5 separate regions of the Homo sapiens genome follow, and regions 1, 2, 4 and 5 are each linked to region 3. Evidence: promoter capture Hi-C in 16 types of primary human blood cells and fetal thymus (Javierre and others, 2016). All regions are on one chromosome and are shown on one strand. The core of a region is centred on a gene start or on the middle of the fragment in contact, and the rest is flanking DNA. Distances in the headings are between cores, read along the strand shown.

Region 1 (3,583 bases), core at 799-3,298, 3.6 Mb before region 3:
ATACAAATGGTATGAGCTGGAAAAGAGGAAGGTTTTTTCACAGCAAAATGGGAACCGTAATGGCCTGGTAGTGGTCCACAAGAACCGGGGGAATGACAGCACTATCTCAAGCATTCACAGTACAACAGGGTGAAGGATAATGGCAGATATTCAGTATAGAAAGATAAGGAGAAGTCCTGTCCTTGGAGGGAAGTTAGATTTTGGTTTAGTGAACAAGTAGAGACATCCTTCTGCTAAAATACTGAAACTGTTGGGCATGCACATAAAATGGAACAAAGGTAGGGACTGAGAGCTAAATGCAGAGTTGGGGATCAGGTCTGGAAGAACTTGGAGGGAATAAGCACAGAGACTGTCTTAGTTTGGGCTGTCACAACAAAAATACCATAGACTGGGTGACATAAGCAAAGAAAGTTTATTTCTCACTGTTCTGGAGACTGGAAAGTACAAAATCAAGGTGCTCACATAATTCATTTCTAATGGCAGCCCTCTCTCTGGCTCACCAATGGCTGGCCACCTTTGTGCTGTATTCTCAGTTGGTGAAAAGCAGGCAGAGAGGAAGCAAGCTCTCCTGTCTTTTCTTATGAAAGTCCAAACCCCTCTCCATTAGGGAGGACTTAATTACCTCACAAAATCCCCATATCCAAACACCATCACATTGAGGATTAAGGTTTAGGCATATGAACTTTGGAGAAACACAAAAATTTAGACTATAGCAGTGATATGAGGGAAAACATTAAAAGATTTGACAAATGATGACTAAGAATGAGGTGATACAGACACCCCTAAAAGTTGTGCAATGCAGAGCCTGTATAGCCACATGCAACTTGAGGGACTGTCAGACCGTGAAGAAGCTTGTAGGCCATATGGTAGGAAGTTTAGATTTTATTTCATATTTAAGAGAAGGCCACGGAAGGGTTTTGTGTTCCTAGAATTTCAGTGTGGCAGTGCAGATGGAAAGAAGTAGATAGATTTGAGATACGTTTTAATGAGAAGCACTAACAGATCTTGCTAACTGATTTGCATAGTTGTGAGAAGAGCAGATGGGGAAGACAGAAAAGTCAAGGATAATTCTTTGATTTATGGCTAAAACAACTAGTTAAATGGTGGTTACTGATATTAATATGAAGAAGTCTTTGGGAGTATGGGAGTGGGACAAGACAGATATGGGAGAGAAATTTATAAGTTGTGTTTTGAACATAAGTTTTAAAGGCCTAAGAGAGGCATCAGGTGAAGCATTTGAGTCAGACCGAGTATCTTGAGCTCAAAGAGAAGTTAAGACTGCCCAGAGAAATATGGGTGTCAGTGGCTCTCAATGACATGACATTAAAAGTCATGGAGGCCAGGCGTGGGGCTCAGACCTGTAATCTCAGCACTTTGGGAGGCTGAGGTGGGCAGAACACTTGAGGTCAGGAATTCGAGACCAGCCTGGTCAACATGGTGAAACCTCATCTCTACTAAAGATACAAAAATTGGCTGGGCATGGTGACATGAACCTGTAATCCCAGCTACTGGGGAGGCTGAGGCAGGAGAATTGTTTGAACCTGACAGGGGGAGGTTGTAGTGAGCCAAGATCATGCCACTGCACTCCAGCCTGGGTGACAGAGTGAGTCTCCGTCTCAATAAATAAGTAAATACATACATACATATGTACATAAATAAAAGTCATGAAGCTGGAGGAAATGACTTGGGAGACAGGGTGGACAGAAAAGGTAGGAGAGCCCAGGCAAAAGTCATTTCTTGCTTTCAGATGTTATGGTGGAGTAAAATGAATTCCTATTAAAATGACCTGCTTAAGACCGTCATGTTTATTTTATTAAAATGTGATTTGTATTTCTCTGCTCAAAATAGTCAGCTATTGTTTCTCTTCTGTCCAAAATCCAACATATCTCTCTTCACCTCATTTCTAGGTCATCCATAGGCATGATCAGTTCTTAGCTTAAGAACTTTCCATGTACTTGATGTTGTAAGAGAGGACCTGGCAAATACAGAAATAAAACGATTTTGTTCTCACCTTTAAAAAGAGTATGCGAAGTTTACTGACAGCACAGACATGAATAGGAAATAATACAATTTTCCAGAAACAACTAGCAATAGAAAATTTATTTTTTCTTTTTTGATGAGCTAAACTTAGGACTAGGTAAAGTTTATTGTTAAAAGATGTCAGGATGTAGAGGAAGATGGCTAATTGGGGTTTAATTTATCATGGAAGTACATAAAGAGGAAGGAAAGCTCTACACACGTACAATTACTTTGCTTGTTCAAAGAAGAAAAGTCCTAAACAACATGTTACCTGCTTGTCAATAACTTGTCAAATGCTTTGACTTTTTTTTTTTTTTGAGACGGAGTCTTGCTCTGTCGCCCAGGCTGGAGTGCAATGATGGGATCTTGGCTCACTGCAACCTCCTCCTCCTGGGTTCAAGCGATTCTTCTGCCTCAGCCTCCTGAGTAGTTGGAATCACAGGTGCGTGCCACAATGCCCAGCTAATTTTTGTGTTTTTAGTAGAAACAATGTTTCACTATGTTGAGCAGGCTGGTCTTGAACTCCTGACCTCAGGTGATCCGCCTGCCTCGGCCTCCCAAAGTGCTGGGATTACAGGCGTGAGCCACCGTGCCTGGCTAGATGCTTTGACATTTGAAACCTCAATTTAGCTTTGTTATTCTTCCCCAATATTGGTACAAATGTCATTTTAATGTATCAATTTACTGCTGAGGAAACTTAAGAACATTGAGAATTTAAGAACATTGAAATTTATGTGACAGCAAAGAGCACAGTTGGGCATAAACATCATATGCATGCCAAACACATTTATGTGTACTTGCTATATATACTGGATAGTGAGCAAGGCATTTTTATTTGATCTCCAATTCTTGTCATCATTTAACTCATCATCATCTACTAAACACTCTCAGTACTTCTCAGAGATAAGTATATTAAAACTTATCTTTTAATTTTTTTTGCCAGAAACCAACAGACCACAAAACAACAATAAAATGGAAAACAAATAGAATATATGGAGCACTGTAGTTTGATAAGGTCATAATATAAGAAATGGAAGGAGGAATATATAATATCTTCAAACTACCTACCTTTGATGTCTCCCCTGGTGAGCAGGGAGAGAAAGATACCTTTAACTAAGAAAGCATATTCAGGCAAGAAACTCAGCTTAGAAGCAAGGAGGAAGAGGTCTTTTCAGAGTAGTTATTAGTGATTTATGTGCTTCTTTGCTTGTGGAAATCTTCATTTTCAAAGCTTAGCTCAAATGCTACCTCCACCACAAAAGCTATTCTAGTATTGTTCATCATTTCTTCAGTTATGTTTAAGCAATGCCTTGAAAGGCAGCTGAAAACAGAAAAAGATCCCTTAACAAAAGGCAATTGGTTTTCTCATGAAACCAATTAAATAAATAGAACGATCAATAGACAGGACTGTGAGTGATTGCCTTACGATACTCATAAACAGTCTATAAGACTTCATTCTATTACTTTCAACAGTGACCAAGAAGATTTACTCAGCGTTAAGCACTATACTAGGAATTGAAGTGATGGCTATGGGATGCCCTGTTTGGAGGTGGACTTGGTCTAG
Region 2 (3,678 bases), core at 33-2,532, 3.6 Mb before region 3:
TATATTCTTTTCTTTTTCTTCTATTTTTTTTTCTTTTTTTTAGAGGCAGAGTCTCACTCTGTTGCCCAAGCTGGAGTGCAATCATAGCTCACTGTAGCCTTGAACTCTGAGCTCAAGCAACTCTCCCACCTTAGTTTCCCAGATAGTTGAAACTATTCCCAGGATTTGAGATCCTAAATTAAGCCAATTGCTTCAAGGATTTGAGATCCTAAATTAAGCCAATTGCTTCAAGGGCTAAACTTTTCAAGTTACCGGGACCAGAAAATACCAATTCTGTATGATCCTGTGGATTTTATGTGTGTCAGTGTCATTATCATAAGGCATGTAACATCTTCACTTGTCTTTAAGTCTTATATGGAATAAAATGAGAAGCAAGCATTGAGAAGTCTTCATAAGAGCTCAATACATATATTCCGTTAGTTCTGTCCCTCTGGAGAATCCTGACTAATATGCTTATGAAATGAACAGAGATCATTCATACCATTTTTAACACTGTCTTGAGTAACCAGAATTGTAGTGATCTTGCAGGATCATGCAGGGGGAACCTTTCACTTACTCTACTTCATTTTTTTCTCTAGCTATTCTAGAAGATAGACATGTTAACTTATTTTACCCTCTCAGTTACTCTCTGAGGTCCTTATTTTACAGATCAGGAAACTGAGAGGCAGAAGTTAGGCAACTTGCCCAAGGACTTTTGACTAGGAAAGGGCAGAGCTAAGATTACTATAACTAAGCTCTCGTAATCTCTTTAGTAACAGTAGCTACCATATATTGAGGATCTACCTCAATCCTCATACTCTTTACATAAATGATCCTATATAACATAAATTTGATCATATCACATCACAGCTCAAAACTCTCCAACTGATTCCCATTATACTTTGGCTATTATTCTAAATCCTTATTTTAACCTACAAAGCATTCCCTCAACCTACCCCTCCAACTGATCTCCTATCGGTGTTCCCTCTTGCTCACAACACTTTAGCCAAACTGGGCTCCTAGTGGTCCTCAAGCATGACACACATGCTCCCACCTTAGGCCCATTGCACTTGCCATTCCCTGGATCTTATATGTTCTATCATTAGGTAGCCACATGGTATGCTTCCTCCCTTCTTTCGGCCTCTGTTCAAATGTCGCATCCTCTCAAAACTTACTGTCTTAAAACCACATGTATTAATCTCAACTGTTTCTATGCATCCAAGAATTCAGAGTGGCTTAACTGGGTCTGACTCAGAGACTCTCATAAAATTGCAGTCAATATGTCAGCTGGGGCTGCAGTCATCTGAATGCTTGACTGGGCTGGAGGATCTATTTCTCAGATGGCTCACTCACAAAGCTATTGACAGGAGGCCTCAGTTCCTCATTGGCTGTTGAAAGGAATCCCATTTCCTCACTACATGGGCCTCCCATAGGGCTGCTTGAGTCTCTTCATGACATGGTAGCTAACTTCCCTCAGAGCCAGTGATCCAAAAGAACAAAGCAAAGAAAAAGATGCAATACCTTTTAGGACCTGGTCTTGAAAATTACACTTCTGCATTTCTGCCCTATGCTATTTTAGGGAGAAGGGGATAAGTGAGTCACTAAACCTAGCCCACACTCAAGGGCAGGGGAATTTAAACTGTATTTCTTGAAGGAAGAGGTATCAAAGAATTTGTAGACATATATAGAGAGAGAGAGACAAGGTCTTGCTCTGTTGCCCAGGCAGGAGTGCAGTGGCTCAATCATGGCTCACTGCAGCCTAGATTTCCCAGACTCAGGTGATCCTCCCACCTCAGCCTCCTGAAGAGCTGGCACTACAGCATGCAACACCATGCCCAGCTAATTTTTTGTATTTTTTGTAGAGATGGGGTTTCACCATATTGCCAAGGCTGGTCTCGAACTTCTGGGCTCAAGTGATCCACCACTTTGGCCTCCCAAAGTGCTGGGGTTGCAGGTGTGAGTCACCACACCCAACTTGTAGACTTTTTTTTTTTTTTTTTTTTGTTGAGACATAGTCTTGCTCTGTCACCCAGCCTGGAGTGCAGTGGCGCGATCTCGGCTCACTGCAAGCTCCACCTCCTCGGTTCACGCCATTCTCCTGCCTCAGCCTCCGGAGTAGCTGGGACTACAGGCGCCTGCCACCACGCCCGGATAATTTTTTGTATTTTTTAGTAGAGACAGGGTTGTAGACATATTTTTAAACCACCACACCTACCTTCATTAATATTAATAGCCCATATTATTATACTGATATTAGTAATTTGTTTACTGTCTTCATTCCCAAACAAAATTTAAACTTCCTAACTGGAAGGATTTGGATATTTTTAGCACTATTTCCCCTATTCCTTGAGTAATAGATAATATGTATTTTTGAATGAAGGAATTATTTCAAGCCAGGCTCGGTGGCTGATGCCTGTAATCTCAGCACTTTGGGAGGCTGAGGTGGGAGGGTCACTTGAGGTCAGGAGTTTAAGACCAGTCTGGCCAACATGGTAAAGCCCCATCTCTACTAAAAAATATATATATATAAATTAGCCAGGTATAGAGGTATGTGCCTATAATCCCAGCCACTCAGGAGGCTGAGGCACAAGAATCGCTTGAATCCAAGAGGCGGAGGTTTCAGTGAGCTGAGATTGAGCCACTGCATACCAGCCTGGGCAATAGTGCAAGACTCTGTCTCAAAAAAAAAAAGGAATTATTTCATATTCTTCCCACAGGTTAGAATACAAAAACAGGTGGATATTTTTCCCTCTTTACAAATGAGAAAACCTCAACAGCTCAATGAGGGTCAAATAGCACAAAAAAAGTCACTAAGCCAGGATGTGAGGTTATCCTGGCATGGATCTAACACCAAAAATCTAGTCAGCCTTTATATGGCTTCCCAACTGTGTCTCATACCTATTTATTTTAAATAGTATCTTCTGAACCCTGAAATAAAGATATAAGTTAGTTAGTTTGCATGTTTTGGAAAAGCAGATCGGGGAGAAAAAAAATCAGACACTTTTCTGAGCACTAAAGCAGCACTGGAGTCCAAATGTTTAGTCTCTGAAGCTGCTAACTTCCGGACACACCATATAATGATCATCTCTACTGTGCAGGACAACAGTTCTCAAACTTTTCCCACACCCACATATGAGAGTAGTCACTGGAGCAAACTGCCAAGGTTCAAATCCTAGCTCTGCCACTTAACACATGTGTAATCTGAGGCAAGTTATTTAACTCCTCTGTGCTTCAGTTTCATCCGTAAAATTGGGATAATTATAATACTTATCTCAAAAATTATTGTGAAAATTAAAGGAATTTACATATGCAGAGTGCTGAGATAAACAGTTCATTTTCAAATGTTAGCCATTACTAGTGGACTCAAATTTCAATACTTTGACAAGTAATATAAAATCACACCTTAAAGCAAATATAAACACTTCAGTGTATCATAATCCCAGGATTAAGAACCATCCACTGGAATGAGAGTTAATCTTTAATCAAAAGGATTTTAATTTAAAAGTTTGCATGAAGCTGCCTGTAATGCCAAAACTTTGGAAGGCTGAGGTGGGCAGATCACTTGAGGTCAGGAGATCAAGACCAGCCTGGCCAACATGGTGAAACTCTATCTCTACTAAAAAACAAAACAAAACAAAAAAATACAAAAATTAGCTGGGCGTGGTGGTGGCTTTCCTGCCTGTAATTCCAGCTACTTGG
Region 3 (3,936 bases), core at 811-3,310:
CACTTTGTTTCCCAGCACGATCAGCTGCTTGGGGCCCACCAGCGCGGGCAAGTCGGGCAGCAGGGCGTCGGGCAGGTCCAGCAGGTCCACCATGTAGAGCACCAGGGAGGGGCCGGGCCGCCGCAACGCGGCGCTCACCAGCTCCAGGTACTGCTCGCGGCTCACCTGCAGGCGTAGAGCGCGCCGGTGGTGCGACAGCAGCCAGCAGCGCTGGCACACGGTCCGTGCCAGCCCGCCGTCTGCCTCCGCCGTGCGGAGGAACTTCTCTCGGGGCAGGTAGCCGGGCACTCCGGCGTCCTGGCAGTGCAGCTCTGCCCCACAGCCCGAGCAGTTCACGCCGCTGGGCGGCAATGCCGGGTCCGGGTGCCCCACGACCGGGTGCTCCCGGGACCTGGCCCGTAGGTTTTGCTGTCGCCGCTCCTCCCGCCGCTGCTGCCTCTGTCGCTCCTCCTCCTCCTGCTGTTGCTGGAGCTCCTGCAGCTGCTTTTCGCGGGTGGGTTGCGGCTCCGGATCCAGGATGTACTCCGGGAACAGAAAACGCTCCTGCATGTCACCACCTTCTCCAAAGCCCTCCGTGTCCACGGGGTCATAAGGAAGCTCGCGTCCCAGACTCGATGAGTGCTGGAAGGAGGAGGCGGCAGCGCACCTCCTCTCCAGGAGCGGCTCCCGGAGGCCATGGCGCGCTGCCGTGGGAGCGGATCCACGAAGGAAAAGGCTCAGCAGCCTGAACGGTAGGCGAGCGGGCAGCATGAGGAAGTAGCTCCAAAGGGGCGGAGCCACCAGCGCGCACGCGCACTAGGGTCCGAGGCGCGCATTTGACCCGAGACGAAAGCGCGTGGGTACTTGGGAGCTGTCCTGGTTGGTTTTGCGTCTAATCCCGTCAGTTCTCGCGATTTAAGCTCTGAGACTGAGAACCTACTTAAAGCTATGGCAAAGGCACTGGAGGATTGAGCTAGGTGGGCAGAAAAGAGCAGTGAGTGTTTTGGGTTTTTTCACTTTCAGGCTTAACGCCTCACTGCTAGCACAAGCCGCCCTTAATAAATCACACTTAAAAAGGAGCTTCCGGGGTCGGGCGCGGTGGCTCACGCCTGTAATCCCAGCAATTTGGGAGGCCGAGGCGGGCGGATCATGAGGTCAGGAGATCGAGACCATCCTGGCTTACACGGTGAAACCCCCATCTCTGCTAAAAATACAAAAAATTAGCCAGGCGTGGTGGCGGGCGCCTGTAGTCCCAGCTACTCGGGAGGCTGAGGCAGGAGAATGGCTTGAACGCGGGAGGCGGAGGTTGCAGTGAGCCGAGATCGCGCCACTGCACTCCAGCCTGGGCGACAGAGCGAGCCTGTCTCAAAAAAACAAAACAAAACAAAAACAGAAAGGAGCTTCCGGCCGGGCGCGTGGCTCACGCCTGTAATCCCAGCACTTTGGGAGGCCGAGGCGGGTGGATCACCTGAGGTCAGCAGTTCGAGACCAGCCTGGCCAACGTGGTGAAACCCCGTCTCTACTAAAAATACAAAAATTACCCGGGCGTGGTGACCCTTGCCTGTAATCCCAGCTATTTGGGAGGCCGAGGCAGGAGAATCGCTTGAACCCGGGAGACGGAGGTTGCAGTGAGCCGAGATCGCTCCACTGCACTCCAGCCTGGGCGACAGAGCGAGACTCCATTTCAAAAAATAATAAATAAATAAAAATAAAAAATAGCTTCGTGTTTTGGTCCTTATAAAGGCAAATAAATTGAGCATCCCAATGTTGCGGATTCACAGGACGAACACTTTTTAATAATAAGTATACCTGGTTTTGTTTTCAGGTGTCGTTATTTGTGCAACAACATTGAAAAACAAGCAGAAATAAAACATTGACGGAACGGATACGACCGCAGATTGCGGGAGCTGTCCTCTCAATCAGCCCGGCAGCGGCGGCCCACAATTTACGCGTGTGCAACCCTAACCCCGGCCCAAGCTTGACCTACAATTTGCGCAGGCGCAGATCCTAACTTTGGCGTCCCTGTGGGCGGCCTTTGGTGTGAGACGCGTGGTATTCTGGGAACGTCGGAGACGGAAGTTACTTCGTCTTTAGCTCCTGGCGCTGCTGGCTTCTGGGCGGTTTTTGTCTTTTGATTTCAAGAGTTAGGAGCTCGAGAACCGTTTGGCAATATGTACGACGCGGATGAGGGTAGGTGAACGCTCAAAACACACGCCGTGGCGGTCCATTTAAGCAGGAAAGCGTTGGGAACTGATTGGATTGAGGATTTGGGGCCTTCCCATGCGCCGGCTGCACAGTCCCCAGCCTTGTTCCCACACTTACCAGGCCGGGAACGAAACTGGGGTAGGGAGAGGCGGAGGGTGCAGGGAACATAGTGTTAATGTTCCAGGTTACGTTCACTGCTGCTCTCTGCACTTTCTCGTTCCGTTAGATCTGATCCTCGTTTCCTGTGGTGAAGTAGCGTGCAGAATCGTAAGATAAATTACGTTTTGAATTTGAAGCAAAGGGCACCCTTTAAAAATTTTCCTTAAAGCCACAGTCGACTTAACGAATAGCTCAATTGTTGAGTGTCAGCCTGTGTCAGGCAGTGTGGAAGGTCCTGGAAATATTCCGGGACAGAGAATATCGGGGGGTGGGGGTGGCGGGGGGGACTCGGTTTAGTCTGACATTTCTTCATACTGTTTGTAAGTCAAAGTAAATTGTCTTAAAGGATGACTTTTAACTTCCTCTTCTCACAATGTCACAGTTCTCAGATGATATGTATTCTGCTGCACTGGGCCAATGTATAATACCTGTTTGTTTGCGCATATGGAATTCTTAGTAGTGGCCGAGCGCGGTGGCTCCCGTCAGCACTTTGGGAGGCCGAGATGTGCAGATCGCTTGAGACCAACCTGACAAACATGGGGAAATCCTGTATCTACTAAAAATACAAAAATTAGCCTAGTGTGATGGCGTGCGCCTGTAATCCCAGCTACTCGGGAGGCTGAGGCCGGACGATCGCTTGAGCCCAGGAGGCGGAGTTTGCAGTGAGCTGAGATCGCACCACTACACCACAGCCTGAGTGACAGAGTTAGACTGTCTCAAAAAAAAAAAAAAAAAATTCTTAGTTGAGTCTAGTGTATTTTCGTAGCCGCCTTTTCCATTCTCCATATCTGCTAATTCAAACCTTATTTTCTTATAGCTCTCAATTCCTTGGCCACCCCCTACATCTCCTCTCTCTATTCCCTCAGGTACTTCTGATAAATCAGATGGAAAAAATTGAAGCAAAAGCTTAATTTTTTTTTTTTTTTTTTAAGAGATGGGGTCTGGCCATGTTGCCCAGGCTGGTCTCAAACTCCTGAGGTCAAACCATCTGCCTGTCTCGGCCTCCCAAAGTGCTGGGATTACAAGCATGAGCCAATGTGCCCAGCCAAAAGCTTAAACTTTTAAAGCTGTTTAAACTTCTGTCTCATTTATATCTTGTGTTGTAGAAATTTATTAGCATCATTATATTCCTTGTTCTTTTTTAACTACTATCTCAGTAGAAGAAAAATTCGAAAAAAAAGATTTTTAAAGCATAATTTTTGGCTGGGTAATATATTCTCATAGCTCACAAGCCAGAAAATTTAAAAATGTTAAAGTGGGGTGGCTGGTGCAGTGGCTCACGCCTGTTATCCCAGCATTTTGGGAGTCTGAGGCGGGTGGATTACTTGAGCTCAGGAGTTCGAGAGCAGCCTGGGCAACATGGGAGACCCCTCTCTATAAGAAATAGAAAAATTAGCTGGGCGTGGTCTTGCTCACCTATAGTCCCAGCTACTTGTGGGGCTGAGGCTGGAGGATCGCTTGAGCCTGGGAAGTTGACACTGCTATGAGCTGAGAACAAAGTGAGACCTTGTCTCAAAAAAAACAAGTTAAAGTGTCACGTCTCCTTCTTACCCACCATCTGCCCAGTTTGAACTCTCCACAGTGGGTAACTAC
Region 4 (3,798 bases), core at 191-2,690, 4.3 Mb before region 3:
AATTCCACCCCTGAGCTAACACAAGGCTTCTTAATGCTCCTTTGCCATGTGTTGATCTTGCAACAGAATGTGGGACAGAAGATTTAAAAAGCTATGTGATGGGGGAAGGGCAGCCAGATCACCTTACACCAGGGCTTCTCCATCAAGCTTCCTTGGATTCCCTTTAGGGGCCAGTATTACTAGCTTCAAGGGAGGTTTTCCTCAAACTGGCACTGTAAGAGCACGTGTTGCCTCCGGGGACCCGCTTGGGAGGGGGCTAGAGGGGAGGCGGGGTGCAGTCTAAAGAATGTAGGCAAAACACACATCATCTCACCCTGCAAGGGACAGCAATGCCTTACTCCAATCTGAGCTCCCCAAAGGCTCTGACAAGTGGAGGCGCCAGCAGGGTCCAGCCTGGGGACCCAAGGGCTGGAGGTTCTTCCTACAGAAAAAGGGAAAGCAATGGGGGAAACCCAAATTAAAGTGACCACCGCATCATGGGCTCGGACTGCATCAGAACCCAGTGATGTCCCTGGCTGTATCCATGCCCGCCAGCCTCCCCTAGGTCTACAGCGGATCAGGCAGGATAACCCTGGAGACCTCCTCCAAGCCCACAGCCCGCCCCACCCTTAGGGCCTGCAAATATTACCGCCACAGAGCCTTGTCCCTTTTTCACAGATGGGGAAACTGAGGCATGCGGAGCAAATTACGGTGCTTTTTCAAACCAGGTTGAAGTTCACTTCTCCAGCCACAATTTTGCACTTTTTTTACAGCTTTATTACATTTCCGATTTCTCCAGATACACAATTGCTATTGCAAAGTGAATTTTAAACACCTCGGAAGGACTGAACTCAAAATGAGATGAGGGCAGTCTGGACGTCCAATAAGGCTGTCTTGACCGCAAGAAGAGGATGGGTGCCCCCCACCTCCAGCTTATCCCCCACCCCCTCCCCGGGGACGTTCAGGTTCGGTCGCTTCCCTTCCCTCAAGCCGCTTCCACCGCAACCCGAGGGCGGGGGGCGCAGCAGCGCGGCCCCGGGATCGCCGGGCGGGTTCCGAGGTCCCGGGGCTGAGACGGGCGCCGGGGGCTCGGGGACCCTCCCCGGCCGCTGAGGTGGCTGCGGCCGCGCGCCCAGCTCGGGGGCCGGGAACTTCTGGCGGCGCGGACCCCGCCGCCCCCGCCGCCCCAGCCACCGGGCGTGTGTGCAGCTCGGGCTTCCCTTTCTTTGCCTCGCCGCGAGTCGGGCGCGACCCCGAGGCGGCTCGGCCACTCACCATATTACAGATGGAGGCGATGTTTCGGACAGTCATTAGTCTAAAGGTTGCAGCGATCCCTCACCGCCATCTTTACAAGGGGAAACCGGGACTGCCCATGGTGGCGCGCTGGCGGGGAGGCCGGGCGGCAGCGCGGCGGCCTGGGGTCCGGCTTTCAGTTTGGCTGGGAGAGGGAGGCCGGGAGGAGGAGGCGGCGGCGCGGGGAGGGCGGGGAGGGAGCGCGGAGGGGCGGGGAGTGGCGGAGCGAGGGAGCCTGGGCCGCGGCCGGCGGCGCGGGGAGGAGGGGCGGCCCGGGCGCGCCGCGTGAGTCCGAGCCGGCCGCTCAGAGCGCTCCAGGCTGGGTTCCCGGGCCCCGCCGCGCCGCCTCCTTCCCAGCTCGCCCGCCCAGGCCTGGCCTCCTGCTTTTCCATTTGATTCCCTGCCTCTTTCTATTCGGACTGGAATGCCGGGCCAGGCTCCGGGGCGCGCCGCTGCGGCAGCCGCACCTCGCAGGTCCCCCGGCCGACCCCGACGCGGAAGCGGCGGCCCTCCTCGCCGTCGGGGAGCCAGGGAGCCGGGGACGGTACGGTGCGCGGGGTGGGGAAGCGGGCGGCCCAGGCCGGGGCGAACCCGGGGCCGCCTTCCGTCCTCGCTTTTTCCTCGTCGCCTTCCTCCTGGCGGGCCTCGGCAGCCCCCGGTGTTTATTTTTTGGCGAGGGGTAGGGGTGGCGACGTCCAACTTTTAGTTCCTCCCGAGGGTTCCAACCAGATGGCACCGGCGGGGACCCAAGAAGTAAAATGGGGCGAGGACACCGGAGCGGTCAGAGAGCCCTCGCCAGCTGCGGGCCGGGCGCCCGAGAAAGGGCGCCGGGAAGGGGGAGGAATCCGGGTCTGGGCGGAGGCCAGCAGCGGCGCGCTCGGGCGGCTTGTGACATTAGCGGGTCCAAAGGAGACGTCCCGGTTCCGCGCAAGCACTAGGGACTGTCCAAGGAGTGGAAAGAACGAAAACAAAACTTTTCCATATCTTCAAGGCAGGCATACCCCTCTCGGGTGCACCCAGCCTCTAGTTGTTGAGATGGGCGCTGTATGGGATCATGCACATTTCCCGCATTAAAGGTCGTGGCTGCGGGCTCAGAGCGCGAGTCTGTGCACCACTTAGCAGATAGGTCCACGCGAATTGAAGGGGCCCGTTTCTGAATGTGTGGAACAGTTACACATACAAGGTTGCAATTCGATGCTTTCAAAGGAGAAATTGTACAAGTGAGATGCGTGATAAATTCTTAGATCAGTGTATTTAATGACAAATTGAATCAGAAGAAAAATTAGTTGAAGATAGCTTTTATCTAACCAAGAGTAAAGATTTGAGAGCCGTTGATTGCTAATATCCCTAGAATCTGGGGAGGAAACAGTAAGACAGACTTGTTGACTGAAGGTTTTGGGAGTCATGTCACTGTGTTTTCCAGTGGACATGAGAAATAATATTCCTGCTTAAGTCTTTCAACCTAAATATTATTTCCAAATACATCCTGATGATAATTTCTTCCATTGTAAGTCATGACTGATTTTCTTCTCTCTCTCTCTGTTTTTTAAGAGACAGGTTCTCGCTATGTTGCCCAGCCTGAGGCTGGGCAGCCCCGAGTCATCCCAAACTCCTGGGCTCCAGCAATCATCCCACCTTGGCCTCCCAAAGCGCTGGGACAACAGGCGTGAACCACTGCACCCAATGTTTACATTCCTGATCTCCTTTAATCGCCACCATAACTATCAGCTGGTACATGCTATTATCTCCTTTTTTGCAGATCAGTCACATAAGGCTTAGAGGATCAAGGATCCTGCCCAGATGACTTACCGAAATGTTACAGATTAAGTTGGTGTGGTAACCTGGGCTGAGCACTCTGGGAGAGGAAGAGAAGAGAGAAGACAGGAAACAACTGAACTATGACCAATCCCAGCACGGAGGCCCAGAAAACTTTAAGATTTGAGTATTAATGTCTCAAGGTCAGGAGCAACCTCAAGGCTAAAACTCAGATCTCAGGACTCAATTTCACAGAAGTTCCACTATAAAGGCAATAATCTAAAGCTTTAAATGATATGAAAATTTTGTAATAAGAGTTCAGTATTTCTGCCAACATTGGCGCATGGATTGCAAAGTTCACAGGATTGAAAACACCATCGACATAATGGAAATTGAACAGCATCTGATTACTGAGTGCTATATCAGCAAGTTAAAAGGATCTTTTGCATACCTTTTAATGGTATATATCCTAAAACTGAAGTGTTCAATATAGACATCCAGATTGAAACTCAGGCAGTGAATTACATACACAACAAATCAGTTGAACATGGCAGAGCTTGTCAGACTTATGAAAGATTAAATACATTTTACATTTCCACAAGTGTGGTATTCACAGGTCTAAATTGGAAAATTCTTGGGTTGAAGAAGAATAATCATAATCTTAGCTTCACTCATTGAGGAAACATTATTCAGGGATGATAAGAGGTAAAATCTTAAAAATATTGACAAGCTAATGAGAGAACTTTGAGGTAAGCTGATATGCAGGTATAG
Region 5 (3,710 bases), core at 12-2,511, 4.3 Mb before region 3:
AAGTTACTTACAAAAGGCTAATATAGCCCTTATTTTGTTTTCTGTAATGAAAATTATTATATCAGTAATACATGCTCTTTGTAAAGAATTTGAATGATACCTCAAAAATATTTTTAGAAAGTAAGACACATGAAATCCCATCACCTTGAGAGAAATACCACTGACATTGTAGTAACCATATTTTCACACACACACACACACACACACACACAAACTATACTTGTACATGTATATACATAGAATACTATACATATATACATACTATACTATAAATATATACATAGTATGTATGTATTTATATTATATAGCTACATACATATAGTTATTTAAGATTACAAGATACAAGTGGTTTTATCATAGATATTTTCTCCTTCCCTCTCACTCCTCTCCCCCATATCCTTCATCCCCTACCCTCTGGATTACCATATTAACAGCAGGTTGTGAGTGTAGATAGGTCTAGGGATAAGTAGGAGTTAAGGAAAAAAGAACAGGTGACAGGCAGCCCAGACGAAGAGAACACCACATGCAAAGGCAAGGAAGCAAGAGCTTATTAGAGCTGTGGCTCTTGAAACTTTAATGTGCATACAGATCACCTGGGGATCTTGTTGAAATATAGATTCCGAATCAGCAGATCTGGGATGAGGCCTGAGATTATGCATTACTACAAGTTTCCAGGGAATGCCCAGGCTGATGGACCACGCTTTGAGAAGCAAGGATGTAAACTATTGTGCAGTTCAATGTAGTATCTACCAGCCACATGTGACTTTTATTTTTATCTATTTATTTATCTTAGATGTCTTGCTCTGTCACCCAGTCTGGAGTGCTGTAGTGCCATCATAGGTCACTGCAGCCTTGAATCCTGAGCTCAAGTGATCCTCTTGCCTCAGCTGCCTGAGTAGCTGGGACTACAGGCCTGTTCTGCCATGCTTGGCTAATTTTTTTTTTCTGTAGAGATGGAGTCTTGCTATATTGCGGCAGCTGGAGTGCAGTGGCTATTCACAGGCACTGTCTGAGCACACTGCAACCTCAAACTTCTGGCCTCAAGGGATCCTCCCACCTCAGACTTCTGCCCACGTAGCTGGGATTATAGGCATACCACCACCAGGCCCAGCATGACTATTTAAATTTAAATTAGTTAAAAGTAAATGAAGTTTAAGATCCAGGTCTTGTGTTGTGCTAGTCACATTTCAAGTACTCAATAGCCACATGTGGCTACCATACTGGACAGCAGAGATATAGAACATTTCCATCACTGCAGAAAGTTGTATGGGAGAGTGCTGGACAGCATTCAGGGGACTGCCATTAGTTCAGCATGGTTGGATTATAATAGGTATGTGGGAAGTGAGAGGAGGAAGTAGATAGGTGGAGGTTGGTTTTGTTTCTGGTGGCAGTAAAGAGCCATTTAACAATTTCCAATGGAGATGACAGCAGTGTGGAAGAATTCATGGGGAAGGGAACACTGGAGACAGGGAAGCTGAATGAAGGTGGAGGCTACTGCAGTGGATGATGCTGAAAGTAAATGATGGAGCTAGAACTAAAGTACAAGCAAGGGCTGGAAAGAAGAGGCAGAGTCATGGTGGTCAATAGGAAGAACTGCCCGCATGGAAGAAGATGAGGAAGTAGGAGGCTGAGAAATGGAGGAGGAGACTGAGAAAGGAAAGCATTTGCGCTAAGTCCTGGACAGCTGGGCTAAGGAATTGTTATTCTTCAAGACAGAGGACACAAAAAGGAAGTGGAGGGGTGGAAGAAGAGAATAAATTCTGGGCCAAAAGAGTGATTTTGTGGTGTCTCTGGGAAATCCAGCTGAGAATATCTGGAGGGCTGGTGGGTATTCTTCTAGGTCCCTTTATTCAACTTCCGACAGATTAAATTTGGAGAGACTGAACTCCCTCAAATTGGACAGATTGGCCAGTCGTGGTGGCTCACATCTGTAATGCCAATGCTTTGGGAGGCTGAGGTGGGAGGATCACTTAAGCCTAGGAGTTGGAGCCTGACCCGTGAGCTATGATTGTGCCACTGCACTCTAGCCTGAGTGATAGAGTAAGACCCTGTCAAAGGGAAAAGAAAGGGAGAGGGAGAGAGACGAGAGAGAGAGCAAGAAAGAGAGAGAGAGAGAAAAGAAAAGGAAGGAAGGGAGGGAGGGAGGGAAAGAAAAGAAAGAAAGAAAAGAAAGAAAGAAGGATTGATTAGACATACTAATTTCTCTAAAAAAATTAGGCCTAATAATAAACCCAATTGAAACAATTCTCTTTAAACTGCATTATAAGGATTTTTAGTACCAAATATATATTATCTTGAACCTAACTCAAAAGCAATTATAAATCAGTTTATTTTGTTCTATTGTCTCTGTATTTAATAGACATTTCTCCTCTAAGCCCAGTGAACAGTTTTACTATTTCGAATGAACTGTTTGTAAGTTCATTGAATTGAGGTATTTGGCCAGAAATGTGAAGCCTTCAGATTAAGGTGAATTTCTCTTAAATCAAACACAAATATAATTCTTTCATAATTCCTTCCCATTTTTATCCCCTGATTTGGGGAGGAGGGAAGACATTCTGCACAACTACCCCCAGCCCCTGCTAGGTTGCTGCTGAATTCCTGCATTAGTCTCTTTACTAAGGAGATTTACTTCTCTTTTCCTATATTTTCCCATGTTGCCTGACCACATGCATTGCCATAGTTAAAGGAAAGGTAATATCTCTCAGCTATCCAAAGGGACTATAAAAAGAACAGATTCCAACTAGAGATATGTTTGGAAGACTCTTGAGAAAGGTGAAGGGACAACAAACTGGTATTCACTCTCCAATTTCAACAAGATCCTATGAATATCTGCAAGATGATGACTAGGTGCTAGGGTTTATTGGTAAATTTTACTCAACTTCTTCTTCCCACCAAAACCACCTTAATCACACCCGAAACCACACCCTACATCAGATCCTATCATTCCCCTGTTAAAACACACACACACACACACAACAAACAAACAAAACACTTGAACAGCTTTCCATCATTCTTAGCACAAAGTATAAACTCTTTCACAAATACAAAAATTAACCAGGCATGGTGGTGCATGCCTGTAATCCCAACTACCCGGGAGGCCGAGACGAGAATAGTTTGAACTTGGGAGGTGGAGGCTGCAGTGAGCCAAGATCGTGCCACTATACTCCAGTCTGGGCAACAGAGCGAGACTCCATCTCAAAAACAAAACAAAACAAAAAAACTCTTCCAGGGTTTCCTGCATGGTCTGGCCCCAAGCCATTCTCATCTCAGGCCACTCTGCTCCTTAAGTTCCATTTCTGGGAGTCCTTAAACAGGTAAAGCCCTTTCCTGTTTTATCTTGGGGCTCTGGACGAGTTGTTCTTTCTGTTTACAAAGCCACACCCCACCAGAGCTGCCTGTCTTGATCTGTTAACCAAGTGTAGGCTATTTTTTGGTTTCCCTTCCTGCTCCACCCCCAACACCTGGGGAAAGGCTAGGTAGCATGTTGTTTGAGGGGCTCTGCCTTCAGGCTGCTTGAGTTCAAATCCTGGATCTACCACTGGCTAGCTGCTCTGTGACTTTGGGCAAGTTACATAACATAATTATTTCCCCATCTATAATTTGGAGATGATTAAATATATTTTGAGGATTAGATTTGTTAGCAGATGGTAAGTACGTGAAACAGCAATAGAAGTTCTCCTTTTAGCATATACTCCAATTTTCTTCTACTT

Evidence for each region. The method cuts DNA at HindIII sites, captures the fragments that hold promoters and counts their contacts. A CHiCAGO score of 5 or more calls a contact.
Region 1: a fragment that was not itself captured here is called in contact with the fragment with the promoter of POLR2B in region 3 in 4 of 17 cell types (non-activated CD4 T cells, total CD8 T cells, fetal thymus and 1 more); the score reaches 8.0 in non-activated CD4 T cells.
Region 2: a fragment that was not itself captured here is called in contact with the fragment with the promoter of POLR2B in region 3 in 1 of 17 cell types (monocytes); the score reaches 6.5 in monocytes.
Region 4: a contact is called between the fragment with the promoter of USP46 here and the fragment with the promoter of POLR2B in region 3, in 1 of 17 cell types (activated CD4 T cells). The highest score is 9.2, in activated CD4 T cells.
Region 5: a contact is called between a fragment that was not itself captured here and the fragment with the promoter of POLR2B in region 3, in 2 of 17 cell types (activated CD4 T cells and naive CD8 T cells). The highest score is 6.2, in activated CD4 T cells.

The regions. Positions count from the first base shown.
Region 1 is chr4:53,371,258-53,374,840 of GRCh38, forward strand. It overlaps LOC105377654 (a long non-coding RNA gene), which reads right to left. Exons shown (of 3, transcript XR_007058118.1): 3 at 2,912-3,340. Among named protein-coding and RNA genes, the nearest start is that of FIP1L1, 4.6 kb to the right of the region's middle. The HindIII fragment of the contact is 2,399 bases long and covers 850-3,248 here.
Region 2 is chr4:53,354,770-53,358,447 of GRCh38, forward strand. The region is part of intron 1 of SCFD2 (sec1 family domain containing 2); the gene reads right to left. Among named protein-coding and RNA genes, the nearest start is that of SCFD2, 9.5 kb to the right of the region's middle. The HindIII fragment of the contact is 7,385 bases long and covers 1-3,678 here.
Region 3 is chr4:56,976,836-56,980,771 of GRCh38, forward strand. POLR2B (RNA polymerase II subunit B) reads left to right here and starts at 2,061. Exons shown (of 25, transcript NM_000938.3): 1 at 2,061-2,169. The coding sequence starts at 2,151. NOA1 (nitric oxide associated 1) reads right to left here and starts at 771. Exons shown (of 7, transcript NM_032313.4): 1 at 1-771. The coding sequence starts at 750. RefSeq lists enhancers at 4-63, 444-513, 2,335-2,434 and a silencer at 264-343. The HindIII fragment of the contact is 1,293 bases long and covers 1,955-3,247 here.
Region 4 is chr4:52,657,861-52,661,658 of GRCh38, forward strand. It overlaps USP46 (ubiquitin specific peptidase 46), which reads right to left and starts at 1,441. Exons shown (of 9, transcript NM_022832.4): 1 at 1,255-1,441. The coding sequence starts at 1,290. USP46-DT (USP46 divergent transcript) reads left to right here and starts at 1,546. Exons shown (of 2, transcript NR_125363.1): 1 at 1,546-1,816; 2 at 3,032-3,638. RefSeq lists silencers at 895-1,414, 1,425-1,854. The HindIII fragment of the contact is 3,165 bases long and covers 146-3,310 here.
Region 5 is chr4:52,708,054-52,711,763 of GRCh38, forward strand. No RefSeq gene overlaps it. Among named protein-coding and RNA genes, the nearest start is that of DANCR, 2.5 kb to the right of the region's middle. The HindIII fragment of the contact is 5,324 bases long and covers 1-3,710 here.